Regions from separate parts of the Homo sapiens genome. Here region 1 is linked to region 2. Evidence: promoter capture Hi-C in human tissues and cell types (Jung and others, 2019). All regions are on one chromosome and are shown on one strand. Each heading gives the region's core, a stretch centred on a gene start or on the middle of the fragment in contact. The rest is flanking DNA. Distances are from core to core; before and after follow the strand shown.

Region 1 (3,534 bases), core at 946-3,445, 270 kb before region 2:
TTTGCCAGGCACTGTGCTGGAGATAAGGATTAAAGGTGATTATGACCTACTGGGTGAAATAGATTTGTAAATGGATTATTATAATTCATTGCCATAAATGCAGCAATAGAGATAGTCCCTGGACATTAAGGGCGTGTAGAGGAGGGATTTCTATGGAAGGTCAGGATGCTTCCTAAAATAGGTAATTCTTCAATGAGTTTTAAGAATGAGAGTCAACCAATGGGGAAGGGCAGTCTAGGTGGAAGGGCCTATATGCAGGAGACTACAGGGCTGGAGATGCTGAATGTGCAGTGCAGTGGGTGGTAGGAAGTGTAAGCTAGAGCTCAATCATGAAGAGGTTGGAATGTCATGCTTGAGGCACTAAAAACAGCTTTTTATTAATAAAGCATATGTGGACATATAGCACATAAACAGTTAAATAGCATATCTGTGGTATTAAGATTTTACGAGGGGATGATTAGGAAAATAGCCTAAAAAGGCTCCGTAGGCGGGCAATGATGAGAAAAGGTTAAAACTGCGAATGGCAACTACTGAAAGTTTTTAAGTAAGAGAGACTTCGTCAGATTTAATTTTTTTTTTTGGATATGTAAAATAGAAGAGTAGAGAGAACTGAGATCTGTCTGAGTCTTAGGGAATGTTCTCAGTTGTAGGTGGAAGAAGCTACTGGAAGCAGAACTAAAGGGCAGTTAGGAAAATGTGTTCACAATGATTGACAATCTAAGTATGGCAGAAGATTGTTAGGAAAATGGGAGTGATCTTTGGTGCTGATAAAAAGTCAAAGAAGGCCGGCCATGGTGGTTCACACCTGTAAACCCAGCACTTTGGGTAGCTGAGGTGGGCATATCACTTCAGCCCAAGAGTTCGAGACCAGCCTGGACAACATAGTGAAATCTCATCTCCACTAAAAGTACAGAAAAAAAAAATTAGCCTGGTGTGGTGGCACGCACCTGTAGTCCCAGCTACTCAGGAGTCTGAGGTTGCAGTGAGCTGATATCACACCACTGCACTCCAGCCCGGGCGACAGAGTCAGAACCTGTCTCAAAAAAAAAAAAAAAAAAGTCAGAAAATTAAGATGGAGAAAAGGCCAAAAGGCCATTGTATTTAGCCTGATAGTAAATAGATCATTGATGGCATTTGAGAGAGTGATTGTGTTTGATTGATTCTAAAGAATGTCTTAAGTATTCAGTATTACTTTTTACAATTTTTTAAAATTATTAATACAATTCTTCCAAATCTCATTTGTTTGTTTGTTTGTTTGTTTGTTTGTTTTTAGTTTAATAAACCAGAGAACTTGATGTTCAAGGTGCCATTTCCTTGGGAAGGATTTTTTTTTTTTTTTGAGACAGAGTCTTCCGCTGTCACCAGGCTGGAGTGCAGTGGCATGATCTTGGCTCATGCAGCCTCCACCTCCCAGGTTCAAGGGATTCTCCTGCCTCAGCCTCCCGAGTAGCTGGGATTACAGGCACGTGGCACCACACCCGCCTAATTTTTGTATTTTTAGTAGAGACGGGGTTTCACCATGTTGGCCAGGATGGTCTCGATCTCTTGACCTCGTGATCGGCCTGCCTCGGCCTCCCAAAGTGCTGGGATTACAGTTGTGAGCCACTGCGCCCGGCTTTTTTTTTTTTTTTAAACAATGGGGTAATAGATTACTAAACTAAACTTGTTAGGAGACAAGGTTCTGGTCCTAGCCTTGCTGCCAACAACCCTGTGACCTTGGTAAAGTTATTTAAACTTTCTGAGCCTTGGTTTTCTCATTTATAAAATCCTGTGTTTCCTAAGATTCTATTATAAAATGATATTAATATTTGTTGGAGTTTGCTGGTGACCACAAGACAACTTTCTCTCTTCAGGACTACAGTGTTGAATAGCTTCTAAAATTGTTTAAAGGAGGAATGAGATAAATGTCACCCTGTTCCAGAGTGGTGACTTTTATAGAGTTTTCTAATTTGGGATTAGATTTTAAATGTTCATTTTTTTTTCATCAAGAGACTTGTTTTCTTCTATTACTGAGTTATTGGTAAGGATTATACATGTAGTTCAGCTGTGGAGAAGAGCAGGCCTGTTTGCAAATGAGCAATTTCTTCTACATGTCCATTTGATACTACTATTTTCCTGATAATATTTACCTTTTTAGTGTTTTAGACTTTAAAAACTTGCTTAGTTTCTTATAAGTCTTACAATAGTTTTCTTACAATATTTTGAGTGATTTTTAAATTTTTAAATAAAATTTAATGTTCAGTATTTTGTCATCTTTTGTGTGTGAGTAATCAGGTAAGATGATTTGGGAGCCAGTGCTTACATTAATTTGCAAGTTTCTTTAAAACAAATTTCTTTCCAGGAGTCTCTTTTAAATTCTGAATTTGGATAAGAGAGTTACTAGTTTGCATGTGGGCCTCCCAGAAAATGAGCTTTGACACAGCTTTCAGGCTGTAGTAGTTTAGGGCTTACAGTGCCCAAAGAGGGAGAGTGACTTCCTAAAGCTCTTGTCCAAGAGGAAGGGAGCATTTTTGCAGACACCCTCAGCAAACCAGCAGTGCTATCCAGTAAATACATAGTGAAAGTATGCAATCTTAAATTTTCTAGTAGCCACAGTAAAAAACTGAAAAGAAACAGGTGACATTAATTTTAGTAATGTATTTTAACTCTATATCCAAAATATTGTCATTTCAACATGTATTCACTATAAAAATTATTAATGATCTATATTACTTTTTTTTCATACTGAGTCTGCAAAATCACTATGTATCTTCATGCTTAGAATATGTCTCAGTTTGGTCTAACCACATTTTAAGTGTTCTGTAGCCACACATGGCTACTGACCAGCACCAGCATATTGATCTCTGGTGTTTTTTTTTTTTTTTTTTTGAGACAGTCTTGCTCTGTCACCACACCTGGCTATTTTTTTTATTTTTTTGTGGAGATGGGGTCTCACTTTGTTGCCCAGGCTAGTCTCAAACTCCTGGGCTCAAGCAGTTTGCCCACCTTGACCTCCCAAAGTGCTGGGATTACAGGCCTGAGCCACCGCACCTGGCCTCTCTTTGGCTTTTGTTGGATTACATACTCATTTCTGAACCAGTCACTGTCAATGAAGGTAAGATTACTTTTGGAGCAATCAGATCCACTTCTGGACCTGGAGATGGAGTCAGTTTTAAATGGGAGGGATGAATACCAGCAGTAAATGCCAGGAATGCAGTCATTAATGACCAAGATACTGCATTTGTCTGACTTGTGTCAGACTCAGAAGAACTTGAGTGGGTATATTTATGGAACAAACTGGAATAATGATCTCTATAGAGAAGTCCTGTCTGTCCTGAGTTATTTGGAGGCATTTTTCCTTTTCTTTTCTGAAGCTTTGTTTGCCTAAAGTAGCAGAAGGTAAATTTGGTACCTGATCGTTGCCATGTTTGCTTTCCTTCCCAGTTAGAGCAGATATCTCCTATTGATTTCTCTTTTTATCCTCTCCGTATTGTGGTTTTGTTATCTGGATAAGGTTCTCAGTCTTGTTTTCAATTTAAGTAGTATAGAGCTCAG
Region 2 (3,693 bases), core at 726-3,225:
AGCCGCACACTCCCACGGGCAGAACCTCTTCCTGACCCCAGGAATTCAGGTATTGCACGCCCTCCTCATAAGCTCCCACCCTTCCGGCCCAGTGACTCCCATCACGCTGGCACGTGTTCCTCAGCAGGCCTCCACTGTCTCCCTGTCTTACAGCCCCCTTTGGCCTCACCTCTCCCTCTCCCCCTACCTAGCTTGAACTGCAACCTTCTGCACCTCAATCACTCTTCTTCAGCTCTTCAAAGCCACCTTTCGCTTTTCTGAACCCAAACTCTGTAGGGGTCCAACAGCCTTCTTCTGGGTAGACCCCGCACTAGAGAAATGCAAAGCACACAGCCTAAGAGATTGGGGCCTCCGGGTCAGCGGCCCCCCACCTCAGCTGGGCCTTCAACACTGCCATAATCCCTCTGTCCTAGCCCACAGCGCCCCAAGGGAAGGGGAAGCTGGGCGGAGCGCAGTGCACCCACCTAACCCACCCCAATCCTTCCATTCCCTCCGCCTCCTCCAGGGCTTTGAGCCGCATTTCCTGCTCTTCTCGAGTAGGGGTAACCTCTCCCACTGTCAAAACTAAACTAGCTCAAGTCTTTCTCACCTGCAAAATAAACTCTCGAGTGCATCTCTCTCCAGCTACTGCCCCATGTCTTCTCCCCTTCGTGACCAGCTGTCTACACTTCCTGCCTCCATTTCCCCACTTTCTTACTCCCTGGCTCCTGCCCCCACGACACAACTGTTCCCCACAGGGCCACAGGCGGGCATCACTCAGTGTTGACAGGCTGCCCCTCCCTGTGACATAGCCCCCTGCTAGTACGCTCCTATCTCAGTCCCCTCCTCCCATGACCTGAGGCTGGAGCTCCCCCAGGATCTCTCCCAGGCCCTCTGCTCGCCATCAAAGGCGGATGCCTCACAAGCTTACGACTCCAGACAGGCTCACCCAACTGCCTCCTCCACCCAACGCTGCAGCCCACTCAAGGTCCACGTAGTCCAAGCTGCATTCCTTCCTCGCACTCCCTTGCCCTGTGTCCCCTCTTAGCAAATGGCAGCCTCGGCGATCCTGCCCCGAGACAGGCCTGCGCCCAGCGTGGAGATGAACATCAGTATTTGCTGAACGTGTAAACGAATCCTTGACCTTCCCTCATGCTCCACAGCCGGTGAGGATTCCTGTCCATTTTACTGCCTCCTACGTCCCTCGAGTCCTCCCCTCTGCTTCTTTGTTCACCGCGGCCAGCTGCCTCCCCAGACCCGCAACCCCGGCTGGGCCGGGAACCTGCACCGCGGCGCTCGTGCCCCGCTCTGCGACCCCTGCTCCGTGACGGCCGCACTGCACCGGGGTACCGCGGCCCAGCACAGGCGCTGGTCACTAGTACACGAACTAGCTAGGACTACAGGTGCACACCACCACACCTGGCTAATTTTTTATTTTTTGTAGAGATAATGTCTTACTAAGTTACCCAGGCTGGTCTTCTGGGCTCAAGCCATCCTCCTGCCTCGGGCTCCCAAAGTGCAGACATTACAGGCATGACCCACCGTGCACAGCGTCAGCTTTATTTTTTTAATGCTGACTTACTGCAGAAGGCCCAAGGGCCAGTGCAGTTTTCATACTGCTGTTGTAGTGGCGAACGGAGCCACGAGGGAAGGGAGCGCCGCCGGCAGCTGCCGGGACACCAGGATACCACGCGGCCAGCACCGAAACGCTAGGCTCGCGCTCACAACCGCAATCTACACTGAGTAGCCGCGCGCCGAACGGCGTGACTAAGCCCCGCCCACACGGCGCTCCTGGCGGCCAATGGAAATGGCTTACGAGACGCCTTCTCCACGCGCTATACTTATACGGACCAATGGGTGCGCCCTGTGGGGAGTGCCGCCCCCTGTCCACGAGCCTCCTCTTCTCGCCAGCCAATGGAAGCGGTCTGCCTAGCCCTCGCGGGGGCAAGGCGGCGACCGAGGCGCGTGGGTCTGGGAAGGCGCGCGGATTTGGCCCCTCTTCTCACATCAGCGGGTCCAGGCCCAACCGACAGACTATGGGGGCTCCGGCAACCAGGCGCTGCGTGGAGTGGCTGCTGGGCCTCTACTTCCTCAGCCACATCCCCATCACCCTGTTCATGGACCTGCAGGCGGTGCTGCCGCGCGAGCTCTACCCAGTCGAGGTGAGGGGCGCCCCTCTTATCCCGGCCCGCTGAGGCTCTCCCGGCGCTGCGTCCACAGGGCCTTCACCTCCTCCGCGCTCGCGCACTCTGGGTTCCAGTTGCCTCTCTCGGGTCCTGCCCATGCCTCCCCCGCTCCTAACCCAACTTTAGTTCGGTGTTTTCCTCGGGCTTTGTCTCTATCCCAGCCCCTTCTCCCAAGCGGCGGGGGCGAACGCTTTGTTTCCTTTAAAGTCACTTCTTCCCTGGGTTTAAGGTTTCCCGCGATTCCACCTCTGGCCGGTTGTCAGTGTCTGAGGGAAGTAGTCTGGATGAAGTGGTGTCCAAAGTCACATGTTAGGTTTGCTTTAAGCTTCTGGTTTTTTGTTTGTTTGTTTGGAAGGGCTTTAAAATACCAGTCTGATCCCAAAGAAAAAATCCGAGTAGAAATAGACCTGTCTGAAGGTTTAGCACCTTGGTTGGTGCAGCTGGGGCGTTCACAGATCGTCACTGCTTCGAGATCAGGTTCCAGCAACTTCCAGAGCTCAGGAGTAAATTGCCATCTTTTCAGATTGGCTCTTCAATATTGGGTTCGAGTAACAATGATCTCCTGAGTAAAAATAAAGGTGAAAATCCCGATTTCCTGGTTGTTGGAGAGCATTCTTTCAACCCCAAACTCTGCTTTAATGCTTTGTTTTTTTCTTCAAAGCTATAGTTTTAGTTTCCCGGTTCGTTGAGGTTTTTTTCTCGTATCTGGACCCTGTGACCTTCTTCCATGGAATTCCTGTCCTCAGTTTTGTTTCTCCATCTTATCTATAACTGTAGGCAGGACTGACTTGTCTACCCGAAGATTTTATTTTGCGTCTGTTTTTCCTTAAATGCTTTTTATCTGCCGAGGAGGGGTTCTTTACCTGAGGGTCATGAACTCCCAAAAATGGGTGCAAGTGTGTGTGCCTTTTGTTTCCTGCAAGGAGAATATAGCTTCCATCGACTTTTCAAGGGGCCTAACTCTCCCAAAAAGGCCACGGCTCAAGAATGTTCTACCACTCCCATAAGTCACTCTTTTTTGTTTGCTTCTAGAACCAAACACAACTGGAAGACCTCTGACCTCCTTTTGCATGGGAAAAGCGTAGGTAGCGTGTAGCAAGTTGCAGTCTGGGGACTTGGTTCTTCCAAGAACTGGAGGTGACTTGGGCAGGTCAGGGCTCTATATCCTCCTCAACTGTTGAGAGAGTTGAGTTAAATTATAAGCTCAAACATATACAGGGTGGGTTAGTTTTCATATTGCTGTTGTAGTTACCACAAATGTAGTGATTTAACAGATTTATTTGTTTACAGTTCTGGAGGCCAGAAGTTCACAATGAAATCTTACAGTGCTCAAATCAAGGCAGGGCTCACTCCTTCTGAGGGCTCCAGGGGAGAATCTGGTTCTTGCCTCTTCCATTTTCTGGTGGCTGCCAATGTTCCTTGGCTTGTGTTCACGTCACTTCAATCTCTGCTTCGGGTCATCACATTGCCTCCCTTTCTGTAGTCAGAGTTCCCTCTGCTTCGCTTTTATAAAGACACTTGTCATACA

Evidence for each region. The method cuts DNA at HindIII sites, captures the fragments that hold promoters and counts their contacts. A contact is called where the count stands out against the background at its distance.
Region 1: a contact is called between a fragment that was not itself captured here and the fragment with the promoter of TMEM97 in region 2, in 1 of the 25 tissues and cell types used here (IMR-90 fibroblasts).

The regions. Positions count from the first base shown.
Region 1 is chr17:28,050,040-28,053,573 of GRCh38, forward strand. The region is part of intron 1 of NLK (nemo like kinase); the gene reads left to right. Among named protein-coding and RNA genes, the nearest start is that of NLK, 9.1 kb to the left of the region's middle. The HindIII fragment of the contact is 6,343 bases long and covers 1-3,534 here.
Region 2 is chr17:28,317,225-28,320,917 of GRCh38, forward strand. TMEM97 (transmembrane protein 97) reads left to right here and starts at 1,976. Exons shown (of 3, transcript NM_014573.3): 1 at 1,976-2,141. The coding sequence starts at 2,016. RefSeq lists enhancers at 255-1,080, 1,300-1,559, 2,040-2,099. The HindIII fragment of the contact is 5,118 bases long and covers 1,698-3,693 here.